2 separate regions of the Homo sapiens genome follow, and region 1 is linked to region 2. Evidence: promoter capture Hi-C in 16 types of primary human blood cells and fetal thymus (Javierre and others, 2016). All regions are on one chromosome and are shown on one strand. Each heading gives the region's core, a stretch centred on a gene start or on the middle of the fragment in contact. The rest is flanking DNA. Distances are from core to core; before and after follow the strand shown.

The links. Contacts are between HindIII fragments. The CHiCAGO score rates a contact against its expected background, and 5 or more counts as called.
Region 1: a fragment that was not itself captured here is called in contact with the fragment with the promoter of TMEM161B in region 2 in 1 of 17 cell types (neutrophils); the score reaches 5.0 in neutrophils.

The regions. Positions count from the first base shown.
Region 1 is chr5:87,869,097-87,876,715 of GRCh38, reverse strand. No RefSeq gene overlaps it. Among named protein-coding and RNA genes, the nearest start is that of LINC02144, 140 kb to the right of the region's middle. RefSeq lists an enhancer at 3,100-4,119. The HindIII fragment of the contact is 4,711 bases long and covers 1,809-6,519 here.
Region 2 is chr5:88,264,058-88,271,547 of GRCh38, reverse strand. TMEM161B (transmembrane protein 161B) reads left to right here and starts at 2,703. Exons shown (of 12, transcript NM_153354.5): 1 at 2,703-2,827. The coding sequence starts at 2,825. TMEM161B-DT (TMEM161B divergent transcript) reads right to left here and starts at 2,666. Exons shown (of 3, transcript NR_039995.1): 1 at 2,521-2,666; 2 at 963-1,022. RefSeq lists enhancers at 2,537-2,726, 2,417-2,916. The HindIII fragment of the contact is 4,710 bases long and covers 1,629-6,338 here.

The sequences.
Region 1 (7,619 bases), core at 2,915-5,414, 400 kb after region 2:
AAGCTACCCATTTGATACCACTAAATGTGGATTTTGGAACAGATGCACAAAATCAGCTCTCATGAACTGGTCAGAGCTGGCTGCAGCACACCACAGGCTAGAACACAACTCTTAGAGAAAAGTGATCTTGTGTAACCTATCAAATGTAATTGTGCAAATTATATTATATGCGTAATAAATTTGACGGTTCTTTTTAAAAATTGGACATTTAAAACCTTAAACTTTTTATCTCAAACAAAGTATAAATTCCCTAACAATTCATAGTGAGAGATAAATACTATTATATGGATAAAATTAAATGCATTAATATTCCCCAACCCTATTATTGGCCTTTAATTTCCATATTATATCAAATCTTTAATTAAGACATAAAACAAGTTAAAAAAAGAGAGATTTCACTTTTTCTTACCATTTCTGTTTCCATTTTTACCCACAGCAATGCCTAAAAGTCACAGATAATTCACAATCTGAAAAATAAACATTTACAGACTCAATATAAAACAAATCTGCAAAAAGTCTTGAAATAATATTTAAAATAATTCACCTTCTTTGGTAGAAATTAGTATATTTGGTTCCCTTTTTGCATATTTATTTTGTGCAAGGATCTCACTCTGTTTTTGAGGGCCTATTATGTGCTAGGTGCTATTCAAGATACTGATAAACAGAAATGGACAAAACAATTATCTCTAACCTTATGGGCTTATGTTTAGGGGAAAGGGAAGAATAAAGAAGACAAGCAAAATACATAATATGATAAATAGGAATTATTGCTTAAGTGATAAAATAGGAGAGGGATATATTATGAACTTGAGAGTAAACTTTTAGGCGAATTGATAAAGAAATTGCCGCAATAGCAAAGAGGAATCACCCTAGGTCTTGACCTTTGCCTTGTCTTAGTCTATGAAGAACTCTACTAACCAACCCATGTACCCAAAACTAGTTCTGAAAAACAGCAAATTTCTAAAGCCCTTGAATAGGCATTTATTTAGTCTGAGACTACAGAAGAAAGAAAACACATCTAATGATGCATTTAAGAGAGAGTCTGCAAAGGGACGTTGAATAATGAGACAGGAGAGAAGTTTCCTTTGTCTTTGCTGAGAAAGGCCCAGGGAGGAGAAGGTCAGCAGTAACAAAGGAGAGAAGAAAGCATATATTTTTCCTTGGGTCCTAATTTTTTGCAAATTTAAAAAATAAAAAGGTTACACATGTTGAAGATTTTATGTAAAGATTTTGGGATAATGAATTTAAATTAGTCTTGAAAGTTGGAATATATCACCACTAACTGTGAGGCACATTATTTATTTTCTGATTAATGAAAAATCCCAAATATTGTGAGTGAAACTATTATAGAGAATCTATAATAGGAAGAATATGAGTACATGTAAAATAAAGAAATGGGTGAAAACTTCTTGATGATATTTTGGTGAGATGTAATGTACAACCTCTCCAAACCTACTACTTATATTGAAAAAGTCATTAAATTAAAAGTTATTAAATGTATGAAATTTTACCCAATTCCAACTATGTAGCATACCATGAACATGCAAAATACATATGTTTCAATGGCTATGAGTTTTGTCTTTTAGTTTAGAATGCAAGAACTTTGACATTACCTCTGCAGTATGGTAAACGCTGAGATAGGAGGGAGGCGGAGATTTGGCCAGATTCAGAACAGAGCAAGGAAATGGATTTGATCTTGGTGATTTAGAGTGTGGGAACTCATGTCAACTTTAGGATATGCACTTGGGTGAATTTTACTTAAATAAAGGGAAAATTAGCAAATGAATGTTTCAGAAAGAGTTAAAGCTTGTCTCATATGCTATCTATGGAGTGGGAGAATCCAATTTGATAACATTTGAAAGGGAAAACTGTACCAAAAAATTACAAAGAGCTTTTGCTCCCTAAAAAGGGTTGTTTGGCAAAGTGCCTGCTTTCACATTAGATTCCACTTATGATGTTTTCATTATACAATTTATGTTTCCGCTTTTTTTTTTTTAATTTCCCAAGTTTAACTTAAAAGTATTTCTACAGAATTATTTATATTTTATCTCATTCTCACTATGGTAGTTCCTAAAATAAAATATACAAATACTTATTGGTTATTGGTTTTGCTGCTTTTTAATGCTGTGGAATCCTGTATACTGTGTATATAGTAATAGGGAAATTAAAAATTCCATAAGAGGAAAAAAATTAAGACACATAAAAGTATTGGAAGATATATTGATAATATTTTTTAATTATTAATTTTAGATTTTTATGATAAAACATACCAACTACCATTAAATGGTATGCCCCTCTCTATTGGCTTAAGTATCATCAAGCACATACCTCTTTATAGAAAAGAGAAAAACTGGGATAATCACTAAGATTCCAAATTCTGTCAAACCAAAAACTTGCTGTAATTTCTCCTTATGACACTGATCTCAGACATTTATTCTCAGTAAAATAAGTGAAGAAATTAGTAGCCGTCTAATTGGTGAAACTCTTGGGGTAGTTGTATAAAGTTCATTACTGTTCAGACATTTAATAAGCAAATGTCCTCTCAGCAACTCCAAATGGCTGCAGTTCCTATTGAATACAATTCTCTTTTCAAGCCATTGATGTGAAATGATTCTATTGACACTAACTTTTGAAGAAAACCTTTAGTTGAAGGGAGCTATGTCCAACATTTATCTCTATTGGTGGAATTTTTTCATTTTATATATTCTTCTTTTATTTTTTATGTGAGAAGGAAAAAACAAAGTCAGATCAAACACATCTATGGAACAAAGCACAAGGGTTCACACTAATGTGCAGGGATGAGAAGACTTTGCTCTAATTTGCTCTCAAAAGCCCTGATGCATTTTCCCATACCCCATACACAGGCATGACAGTGGATACCTCAGCCACTTTTGCACATGCCTAAGAAATGTGTTTCTCACTTAAATTGCAGTTTCCACACTTTTCTGAACATATCTCTTAAACTTTTTTTTGTCTTCCTTTCCTTTTTTTGAAAAGAAATAGAAGGTAAGTTTCGAAATAAGCATTAGTGGAATAACTTGTTAGATTTGGAGATGGAGCAGTACTTTTCATTCTTCCAGGCATGTATTTGAAAAGAATTTGCACCTAAATTGCCTTGACTGACTGTTTCTATTCCAAGTTAAGTCATGATACCAGTTGAGTAAAGACACCCAGAAAACCCTTCTGGGCATTGCAAGGTTTCTCTTCCCTTTAGCGTTTGAAGTCAATGCTGACAACACATCTACTGTCCACTGGTCCTTTAATCAGTGTCCAACCTATCCGACGAGAATAGCCCCAGGATGGAGCCCCAGACCAGGCCATGGGCAGCACCCTTTTGTCCCTCTCACATGGATGGGACATGATTCCACAGGATTAGCCAACAATTATATGCTCTGAACTGATCAATTCAGTCAATTTACTGTGCAAAGTAAATTGATCCTTCAGAACAAAGGATTCTGTCAGCAGGGAGCTACCTGAGAAAGCAGCATGCCTGTGTAAACAGTTCTGTCCTTGTCCCAGTGTGGAGTGGCCCTGCGCCATATGGTGCCACTATGAACTTATTAGCTGACGGATTAACTGATCTCTGCATTTGGGATCCCCAGTTTCCAGCTGTGAGAATGATTGATGGGCTAACTACTGCTCCAGTCTTGGAAGTTATTTCCTCCATTTAACAGAGTCAAGAAGACAGAAAATTGCCCCCTTTGTAAATGCTAATCTCACCACTCCTTCGAACACCCAACATAGCAATTTATTCAAGGCAAAGTCTTAAAATTGGTATAGTGCACATCAAATGCATACTAATTAGCAATTTCTTTTGAAGGCTCCATCACTTATTAAGGGTCTCCTTTTCCATATGTTCATCATGCCCCACTTCACCCTTTAATTACAAAACAGCACTTTCAACTAATTGTGAGAAGGTATATTGTGCCCGGAATCTGTATTAAACTCTACACCTTCTGATGCCTAATTTAGGGTCACATCGAAGGCAGACAGATAAGCAGGCAAAAAGGCTTACAACTGTCATCTGCAATTTTAAGCATATTTGGGTGTTGTTCAGAAAGAACATTTTATCTAAGATGCCAGCTATGACATTCATCACTGGGCATTACCACAAACCCTGAGTAGAAAGAAGGGGATTGATTCCAGATTAATAAATGGAATCTTTCCTTCTTCGAGGGAAACCCACATAAACTCGACAGATACATGATAATATTATTTGTAACTTTGTAATTACTTCACCTATATGTAAAAGGACCACACAAGTTTAAAAGGTTAACAGTCTGTTATTTAAATATGTATATGATAGTTGCACCATAGAAAGGGGAATTTTGCAAAAATACACCTGAATAACACTTAAAATAAATGCCTCTCCTCTTGGGAAATGTTGATGTTTTCCTGCATTAAATAAAACCCAGAGCCTTTAAGCCAGCTAGATAACTCTAACCTTGATCCCAAGTATATGTCTGTCATTTATTATCCTCACTAGAATGTTTTATGATAAAGACCTAGTCAGCTCCTTTCTCTGGCCCTCTTTTTCTACAGAATTTTCTAGACAATCTAGTGATACTTCCTTGTTGATGTTGGTTCCCAGAGATAGAACTGGTGGGAGTTTATGGTTCAGGTATATGTAGGCTACCTGGAGACAGACCCAAAGAAACCTTTGGATTTGGGGTGGAGAAAGGTGAGGTAAGGGATTCGCACTGTAAAAGCAGTTCATTTTTCACAAATCTTTAGTGAACCTGACTTCATCAGATAACAGTAGAACCCTGTAAATAAGCCAAGGAGCCAGACCAATCAATCTATCTTTAAATTAGGACCACTTTGAGGTAGGCTTTGAAACCATTCCTATATTCACAGTTGATGTATGGCAGAAATGGGAAAACCATGAATGGCAAAATATGTATAAGACTCTGTTTTTTTTTTGTTTGTTTGTTTTTTGTTTTTTTCTAGAAATTAACTTCAAAGATTCTTGAGCAGACCCTTGGTTGTTTGCTGTCTTCAGCCAAATGTCTTTGTTGAAACCAAAATTGCATCTTTTTATGATGGTTATTCAACTTTAATTTCCAAACTCTCTGATTCAGAATCAGTTTCCTTCAGACTATGGTTTGGTGGATTCTAGTCAAGGTTTATTCAGGGTTTTAATCCTCCTTTTAGCCATGTGTCTTTGGCCAGATTTTGATCTTTTTGAATCTCAGCTTCCTCATCTGAGATCATGAAGGGAATTATATCTCACCTCAAAGGTTTGGCTTATATCTGGTGTGCTGATAGGTGAGTATGCTAGTTTAGCATGGAACAGAGTTAGAAGCTAAGACTTTCCTTTGCTTCTCCTTCCTTTCATTTACTAACCACTTTGGCAACTTCAGTTTATCAGTTCAGTATCACACTTACCATTTAGGTTTCTTCTGTAGAGAAATAACTTGAGTTTTTCTCTTCCCTAAAGAGAGCAGAAAGAAACTGTCATTAAAATAGAGGGAAAATAAAAAATATCATATTATCTTCTTTCAAGCAATATAACGTATACCAAATATTAATGTAGTGTGTGTGTGGGGGTGGGGGGGGCGGTCAATCATTTATTTTTAAATCACTTTCTGAAATTTGCTCTTTCTTTCTTTCTTTTTTTGAAAGAGTCTCAATCTGTCACCCAGGCTGGAGTGCAATGGCGTGATCACAGCTCACTGCAACCTCTGCCACCTAGGTTCAAGAGATTCTCATGCCTCAGCCTCCCAAGTAGCTGGGATTACAGGTGTGCACCACCACACCCAGCTAATTTTTGTATTTTTAGTAGAGACAGGGTTTCACCATGTTGGTCAGGCTAGTCTTGAACCTCTGACCTCAGGTGATCCACCCACCTCAGCCTCCCAGAGTGCTGGGATTACAGGTGTGAGCCACTGCACCTGGCTTGGTTGCTCTTTCTTTAATAAACAGTTGAATTTTAATATTGAAATGTGATATATGCAAAGAGAACAACTTATGTGAATACTGGAATTAGAGGATGATCACCATATTTATGAAAAACTGGTGCAAAGGAAAGTTGAGGAAGTCATCTGTATAAACCTGGCAAATAATTGTTAGGGAAGAATGATTTTAGCATTTTTTTGTGTTTTATGAGTCCAAAATTCTTAGCAAATTTATACTGAATTGAATTGTAGGCAGCCAAATAGAACCCTCCAAATATCCTCAAACACACTAGACAGTCACTTTATTTTGACTTTGAAAATCTGACCGTAGTAAATGTTTTTATTTATAGAAATCTTCACAATATTTTAATAGTTAGGTTAGATATACTTTGTTGGGATATCAAGATGGTAAGCCACAATTTGTTCTTTGAAAGAAAATATGCAAATCCTGTTTCTAATTATTCATGCTAATTAGGAGGTTTACTTGAAAAAAGTGTGTGACAGATAAATGATTCACATTTGGTTGAAGAATAGAGTCTATTACTTTTTCATCAGATTTATCATTTCCTTTACCTTCCCCACCTTCATTCAGGCAATTCTTTTAGACAAATGTCAGCAAGCTTAATTTCCACCTCTGTATCAGATTATTCTAGAATTATCACATGTTTAATAGTGATAAAGGTGCCACAATATTTCAAAAAGTTTTTCCTTATTTGCTGTTTATTTTTTTCCCCGTGGGAGAAACTATGAATTATATATCATTCAGGTTAAAGAACCTCCACCTCTAAGTGTCAGGGGAATTTTGCCTTTGAAAAACCTCTCCTTTCATCCTAACCAGTTTTTGGACTCCAAGTGACATGAGGTTAAAGAGCCTCTTTTATACATCTGTACATATCTGGTCTTTTAAAAAGAGTAAGTACTCAATGAATGTGGTTGAATGAAAGAGATAGTCACGGTCTATGAGAAGCATGGCTATTTGCTATCACATAGGATAAGAGTACCAAAGAACATTTGCAATATATACCAGTCTTGTACAGTATTCTGAGCTTTATTTAATGAGTTTTAAAATTGTGACTTTTAGAGAGCAGAGTCCACCTCCAGTCACTTTCTCTCACTCTCTCCAAATATCTACTTCACAAAGATTGAGTATAGATGATCACTGATTCTATACGGGCTACTTCACATAATTTTGATCTGATCCTTTTTCACTACCCTTATTTGTGTGTATGTGTGCATAAATACCAACAGTGTGGTGGGTGGGTAGGTAAGTAGGTGAGAAATCTCTCCCTCCAAAGATTAACTGAATTTTTTATTTGGGGAATTTTTAGTGAATATGTGTCAATTCATTTGATATTATAGAATGCAACAAATGTTTTCAGATTAGCTTGATTTTCATCTTTTGAGTTCTCAAAAGCTACACTTCACATTTCCTGACAGTTATATTTGGAACCAGAATTTACTCCTTAGTTTCAGGTAATTTTTTCAGTTTTTATACTTTTAAATTTTATAGTTCAAGGATTGTTGCTGAGTGTTGTTTGCCTTCATGAGACTAATAATATTCCCGTGTTTAAAGGGGTATATTTTAAGTGATACATATATTCACAGCATAAAAATGTAGCGTACCTAAGTCAACACCAGAGGATTTTCCAGTTTTAAAAATCTTCGCAAGTTTACAAACTAAAGTTTTCTTGAAAGAAGAAAATCACTTTGACTATTACTTTG
Region 2 (7,490 bases), core at 1,454-3,953:
ATCGTACTTTTTGTTGGTCTTGAAAGCATTTGAGAACAGTTCTCATTCAGGACATTTCAACTCATCACAAAGCCCGAATGGTAAGCAACCAAGACTTTTCTCAAAGATTATGCTCCTAATTCCCTTGCTGAAACTACTGAATTTCTTTTCATCTCCATCTATCTTTTCTTCCCTTTCATAACTGTCCCCTTTCTTTGTATCTTTGTCAAAGACACTCACCTATTTTAAATAATGGAAACAGAGAAATTACTGTACTTCAAGGCAGGCAACCAATAGATAATAATATTATTCTACCAAAAAAAAAAGACTGGGTGGCACTACCTTAAAACATATATCCATTTTAATCATTAAATAGCATTACTTATATAACAGATTTTTCACATGTAATTGAGAGAACTGTGTGAAACAGAACATTAAAAGATATTAATCAAGAGTTATTCATCAACTTGCCATACAACAAATAAGGAACACTGCACTCTGTGATCTATTAAAAATGATAAGCAGATAATCAAAACTGCGATTTCTTTTCATGGTTTTACTCTAGCAGGAATGGATTCCATTCTGATAGTAATTCCAGTTTTACTGTCACATAGAAGGAGATACTTTGCGAACCTCAATGACTGCCAGGTTTAGGACAGATATTAAGAACCACAGTGTCAGAAATGAAAGAGTACAACTTCACAGAATGTGTTGTCTCTGACAGGTTGATAGCCACTTACCTTCTCCATCTTTTCTTCCTCAAGGATAGCAGCTGCTTCCCACAGATACACCAACAGGCAATTCCAGCCCCTCTCTACCACACTTACCATTTGCAGGTGCCTGTGGCTTGTCTATTTACAACCTTGTCCCTACACAGCAGAAGCGGAACCCTTCAGGAAGTTCTGGATTCATCCTCAGCAGGATCTGTTTCACAAACTATTCTCCAGTCCCACCTTCCCTCCAGGTATTCTGTCAGTACTTACGATTCCCAGATCTTCTTTTAATTGTCACGCTGTTCGTCCCCTCACAAAATCAAGTTTAAACTAAAAAAAAAAAACAAAAAAAAAAACCCTCATACACTCAGTCTGTGTCCCCTTTCCTGACATAAAATAACTGGCCCTGTGCATGCTTCTTTTGGATGGCTGAGAACCCCGATTCCTTTGGGCCATTTACAGCTTGGATACCATACGCTCCAGGTACTTTGATAAGCAGGGTGAAATTTAATATCTATAACAACGCCTGCCTACTCAACCTTCTTAACTTCTCCCAAAACTTCCTAGTTTCCCTTCCCAATTCCAACTTCATAACAAAACATCACACTATGGCACAAAGTGAATTCATGGATGAAATTACTAACAGCTACAACTTAAGTAAGGACCCCAAGTCGTGAGACAAATTTCTGGGTTGAAAGTGCTCTGTATATCCATTTCAAGCCTGCCTCCAGTACGATGTCTCATTATAATCAAATAAAAAGGCAGAAAAAGTTGAATGGAATAGAGTTTGGAAAAAACACAAAATTAAAAGTTGTATGAGAGTTTCACTTATTTGCATCTGATATAAATATCTATACATCTATAGAAAAAAAAAACCCTCATACACTCAGTCTGTGTCCCTTTTCCTGACATAAAGCAACTGGCCCTGTGCAAGCTTCTTTGGGATGGCTGAGAACCCCGATATATCGATATATTTATAGATAGACGTCTACATATCTATCCAAATATCTATATCTATCCATATATCTACCTATCTATCTATCTATATATATATCTATATCTATCGATCGATATCTATCTATATCTATCTATCTAGACTTCCCTGGTGAGGGAGTGAACCGCTGCCTGACGGGGGCCAAGACTGGCAGAGCAGAGACGCGGTTTGTACATGAGGGGAGGTGGTGGCCAGAGCAAAAGTGAACCGCAGGCTAGGCAAAGACCACAGCACACAGCCATACAGGTGTCCAGGACCGTCAGATCCCAGAGCATCTATCTATATAGATAGGTATCTATATGGAAAACGTCCATATTGGAACGTATTAAAGAGGCAGAATTTTCTTCCTGGGTTCTCTGCTCTTGGTAGATGTTCTTCCGGCTTCAATTGCCACCTGTGAATAGTGAAGAAACTTCTCACTATGAGATTCCATTGCCCGGAAGGAGGGTAGAGCTACGGTACCCACTAAGGCAGGGAACAGAAGCAACAGACGGACAGGTCTGTGGAAATGAGGATATGCTAATAAGGGACCGAGTCAGGAAAACTAGAGGGTAACAAGAGGGCGTCAGTTAAGCTGAGACAAAATGACGGCCAAAGGTGGTCTTTACTCTCTCTAAATCACCTGGGTCTGGAGTCGACTCCCATCGCGCACCCTCACTCCCACCCCTGGCCCCCTCCCGCCCCCCACCCGCCCCCCTCCCTCTCCCCTCCCGCTCCCCACACCAACGTGTGCCTCCGTCACCTCTCAGACAGTGGATGCGTTCCTGTTGAAACCACCCAATCTACCTCAGGGTCCTCGCAAGCGCAGCCACCACGATCCGCCCGCCCACGTACCTGTGCTGCGCCTGCGCCTCCTCCGCTCTCTCAAGGTCAGCACCGCCCCCAGCCCACAACCTGGCACCCACGGAAGTTGCTTTAGAGGACGTCCTGCGTATCTTCACCTCTGCGTGGCGTGGGGTCGACGGCGCTCTGGAGAAGGGAGGAACTTCCTGTCCCGCGCGCGCACAACTTCCGGCAGAGCCGGAAGACCCTCTCTTTCGCTGTTTGAGAGTCTCTCGGCTCAAGGACCGGGAGGTAAGAGGTTTGGGACTGCCCCGGCAACTCCAGGGTGTCTGGTCCACGACCTATCCTAGGCGCCATGGTGAGTTCTTCTGTGAGGGCAGGAGTGACAACGGTGGGGCGAAAAGGGCGGGGAGGTCAGTACTGTGAAAAGAGCCATCAGGTGCTCTGCTCAGAATGGAGTTGAGACGTTGGGATGAGCTGCTGGGTAGGACCCACCACCTATCTCAGGGTGTCTGAGCCCCTGAGGAAGCAGCATTACGCCTACCTGTCTGGGAGACTAGCGGGCCGGAGGCAGGGGCGTATCTGTCAGGGAGTATGGACTGGGTAGCCTGCCTGTTCATGGCCCATTTACTGTGTATGGCCTGTGGCGCCAGGTGATCCCAGAGTTGACCTTGCCGGGTCAGTCACCTCTTCTGCGCCCCCTTCTCCATCCGCGGAACAGTGGCCAAGAACTTCAGATCTTAGAAATGCTTTTAGCCTCTCCAGGTGGACACAACGGGTCTCCTTGTATAAGATCAACACCTGTCATTTAAAGAAACGGTAGTCCCCTTATTCTTTACACTTAGCCATTTCATAATTGAAAAGGGTGTCAAATAAAAAACCCGAGTTTAGTAAGGACAGACTTTATTCGAAAGGAATATTGCAGGGGTGTGGAGGAAGGTTGAAGGAACTGTTGCAGTAGGGAGAATGACCGTAAGATTTGCATGCACCTTAAAGGTTAGGCAGAAAGGGTTTGTCTTTTGTTGGTAGGGGTAAATAAGATGTCAGGAATTGGGATGAAAATATGGGTATGATCCGGCAGTAACCAGATAATGTTTTACCCTGAGCCCATGTATTCTGAGGAGGAGCTGTTAGGAGAGGTTTGTATATGTTGTTTCAGACTGAGGGAAGGACAAAATTCAGGTACCCGAGAGAAGAGAATCTTAAAGTTTGGTTAATAAGTATTTTGTTCCGATTGATCTGTGGGACAGGTACTTCAGCAAGTCATTTACGAAGCAAAGGATGGGAATTAGAAGGGTCTAGTTATGGCCTTGTTATAGGTAAACAAGGGGTAGGGGGGTATGGATCAACCCTTAGTCTTATCTAAGTTCTACAGGAAAGATGATTCTTTGCAGTAAGCCAATTTCTCAGAACACAAACGGGGGCAAGGGGTTTCTTAACCTTTGCTGTTTTTCAAGATCACGGGGCTCTGGTGAAGTTCATTATTGTCAGTTTCTTCACCGTATACAAGATTTCAAACCCTCACTTGCAGAGGCTTCTGTCCTGGAATTTAGCTTCAGTTTGTCTTATATTTTCAGGGCCAAATATTGCCAACATTCAGTTAATGTGTGTGGTGATTGGCTTTTGAATGACTTTTAGAAACTTAGCTGAATGTAGAACAAAGACCTTCAAAATAATGTAGTTCCTGGTGCACTTTACCAGATAACCTATCTCTTTAAAGTTTTTTTTTTTAAGCCTCAGTGAATAATATGGTTTGTATTAAGAAAGTTGTTTTTCTTTTGTATCAGTGAAATTAGACAAGGATAGGGAAAACAGAACTGGGAGAAACCAAAGCCTAGTAATCACTCTTCCATCCCCATTTTTACAGAAGAAAGAATCTGGGGTCTAGAAATTGACAGTGATTTTTCTAAAGTAACAGTAGTTTGGCAGTCTGGACTAAAACTCATATTTTCATTTTTTAAATTTAAGATTAATTTTTGACTTTTTGGTCTGAAAAGTTGAAGGTAAAGTATAATTAAAATACTTAAGTTCATCATAGTCACAGAAAAGCTGAACATGAACTTGTTCTCAGTGTTTTGGAATACTAGAAGTAGAATCCTGCTTATCCTGTCGGTTCAAAAGAGATGGTTAATGTTTGGAACTAATGTAATCTTATGCTGTTTTTCTGAATGTCATTTTGGAACTAACTAGTTGGCTCTTTTCCTTCTGGAAGTGCTTATATTTCTGAGCTAATTATCTTGGCTGAGTTTTATCTTTCCCAGCTATGAAATTGATAATGTCTGTATATGCAAGTGTGGTTAATGCTTGGAATTTTTCAAAGGGAAGAGTTTAACCATTAAATGAAGTGAACATGGGCTGAATTTATTGAGGATTCAGCTTGTTGAAATCAGAACTTGTTTTGCATTGCTGGGGCCTAATGATATTATGAAAAGAACATTAGTATTGACCCCAGAGGACCCAGATTCTGCCCATTGTTAGTTATATGGATTTGGAAAAGTCACTCAATTTTGATAAGAGTTCCAAATTCCTCCTGGGTAAGAGAAGTGGGACTTGATGGGTATTAAAGCACCTTCTTAAATTTATGATTCCATGACTACTCAACATTTTTGAGGATAGTTACATGTTTCAGATTAAATAAAAGTTAGTCTGATTTCCACTGTTTTGTTTCCATGCCATTTTGGCTTAAGTTTGATTTCTTTTATCATTCTCTTTTTCATTTTTTTCATAAGTCACATAGATAGTACTTGGAATCTTTGTATATTTGGCCAAGTCTTTCACTACTGTCTTAAATACTGCTCCAGAATGGAACACAACTCTTGGAATGTTTTGATTTAATTCTTGTTTTAATCAATGATAAACTAATTCTGTGCTCTCATTCTCTCATACATTATGTATACCGATACTCAATAGATACCTGTGCCTATAACAAGGTTTTTGTATTATGAATGAAGGAGAATAGGATTATGATCCAGACTGAAAATACTGAACTCACGCTTAATTTTTATGCTTTCAAGTTGTTGTGAAGACAAGTCTATAGGAAATTTACTAATGGAATAAAGCCATTTGCTCTATTGCACTTTCCTTTTTGAAAATTACAGACCAACTTTGATCAAATATAAATCTTTCTACCATTCAAGCTAATTTGTGGAAGATAGGTAGATTAGAGCTAGCTCCTGGAATTGCAGATATCACGGCTTGCATCTGTGTATCATCCTGTAGTAACTTACTGCTGTAATTGAACAATGGTTTGTGGGCAGGTGTGGGAGAGTAGGCCATGGGGAGGTTATAAACCTTTGCCATAATCAATTGGATTTGATGAAAAGTTTTCTTTTTGAGGGGAGTGGAGGGGAGTGTTGGGAAGAGTGTGTAAATGCTATAAGAGAAACACATATAATAGGCTCAAAGAGTACAGTGGAAAGAAATTATTTCTAACTGAGAGCAGGTTGGGTCATGTAGTAGGTCACAGGTTCCCAACCCCTGGGACTGTGGACTTGTACTGGTCCATGGCCTGTTAGGAACTGGGCTGCACATCAGGAGGTGAGTGGTGGGCAAGTGAGTATTAATGCCTGAGGTCCACCTCCTGTCAGATCAGTGGTGGCATTATATTCTCATAGGAGCGCAAACCCTGTTGTGAACTGTGCATGTGAGGGACCTGAGTTAGGTGACCCTTAAATGACAATCTAATGCCTGATGATCTGAGGTGGAACAATTTCATCCCGAAACCATCCTTCCTCCACACTGCCTCCACAATGTGTGAAAAAATCGTCTTCCATGAAACCAGTCCCTGGGGCCAAAAAGGTTGGGGACTGCTGTAGTAGGTGACTTCAACTGAGTTTTGAAAAGTGGGTTAATATACTAGTTTTCAAGCTTGAGTTTGCATAGGAATCACCTGTGATACTTGATAAAAAACACTTCTCTGCGCTGATAATTTGGGGTAGCATAAAGTTTTAGAATTGTATTTTTAAATTTTTTTTCAAATTTTACTTTAAGTTCTGGGATACATGTACGGAACATACAGGTTTGTTACATAGGTATACATGTGCCATGGTGGTTTTGCTGGATTTATCAACCCATCATCTATGTTTTAAACTCTGTATGTATTAGGTATTTGTCCTAATGCTCTCCCTCCCCTTGCCCCCCACCCCCTGACAGGCCGCAGTGTGTGATGTTACCCCCTCTGTGTCCATGTGTTCTCATTGTTTAACTCCCACTTATGAGTGAGAACATGGTTTGGTTTTCTGTTCCTGTGTTAGTTTGCTGAGAATGATGACTTCCAGCTTCATCCATGTCCCTGCAAAGGACATGAACTCATTCTTTTTTATGGCTGCATAGTATTCCATGGTGTATATGTGCCACATTTTTGTGATCCAGTCTATCATTGATGTGTATTTGGGTTGGTTCCAAGTCTTTGCTATTGTAAATAGTGCTGCAATAAACATACGTGTGTGTGCATGTATCTTTAGAGTAGAATGATTTATAGTCCTTTGGGTATATACCCAGTAATGGGATTGCTGGGTCAAATGGTATTTCTGGTTCTAGATCCTTGAGGAATCACCACACTGTCTTCCACAATGGTTGAACTAATTTACCCTCCCACCAGCAGTGTAAAAGCGTTCCTATTTCTCCACAGCCTCGCCAGCATCTGTTGTTTGCTGACTTTTTTAATAATTGTCATTCTAACTGGCATGAGATGGTATCTTATTGTGGTTTTGATTTGTATTTCTCTAATGACCAATGACGATGAGCTTTTTTTCATGTTTGTTGGCCACATAAATGTCTTCTTTTGAGAAGTGTCTGTTCATATCCTTCGCCTACTTTTTGATGGTGTTGTTTTTTTCTTGTAAATTTGTTTAAGTTCCTTGTAGATTCTGGATATTAGAATTGCATTTTTAATAAGTTCCGCAATTAAGTTTTGTTTTTTTTTTTAAATCCTTACTCTAGCACTGGATGCAGTTAAGAGTTAAATTGATGGACCTTAAACCCCTACTAGAGAGAAATGCAAGTATAAGAGACTTTGATGG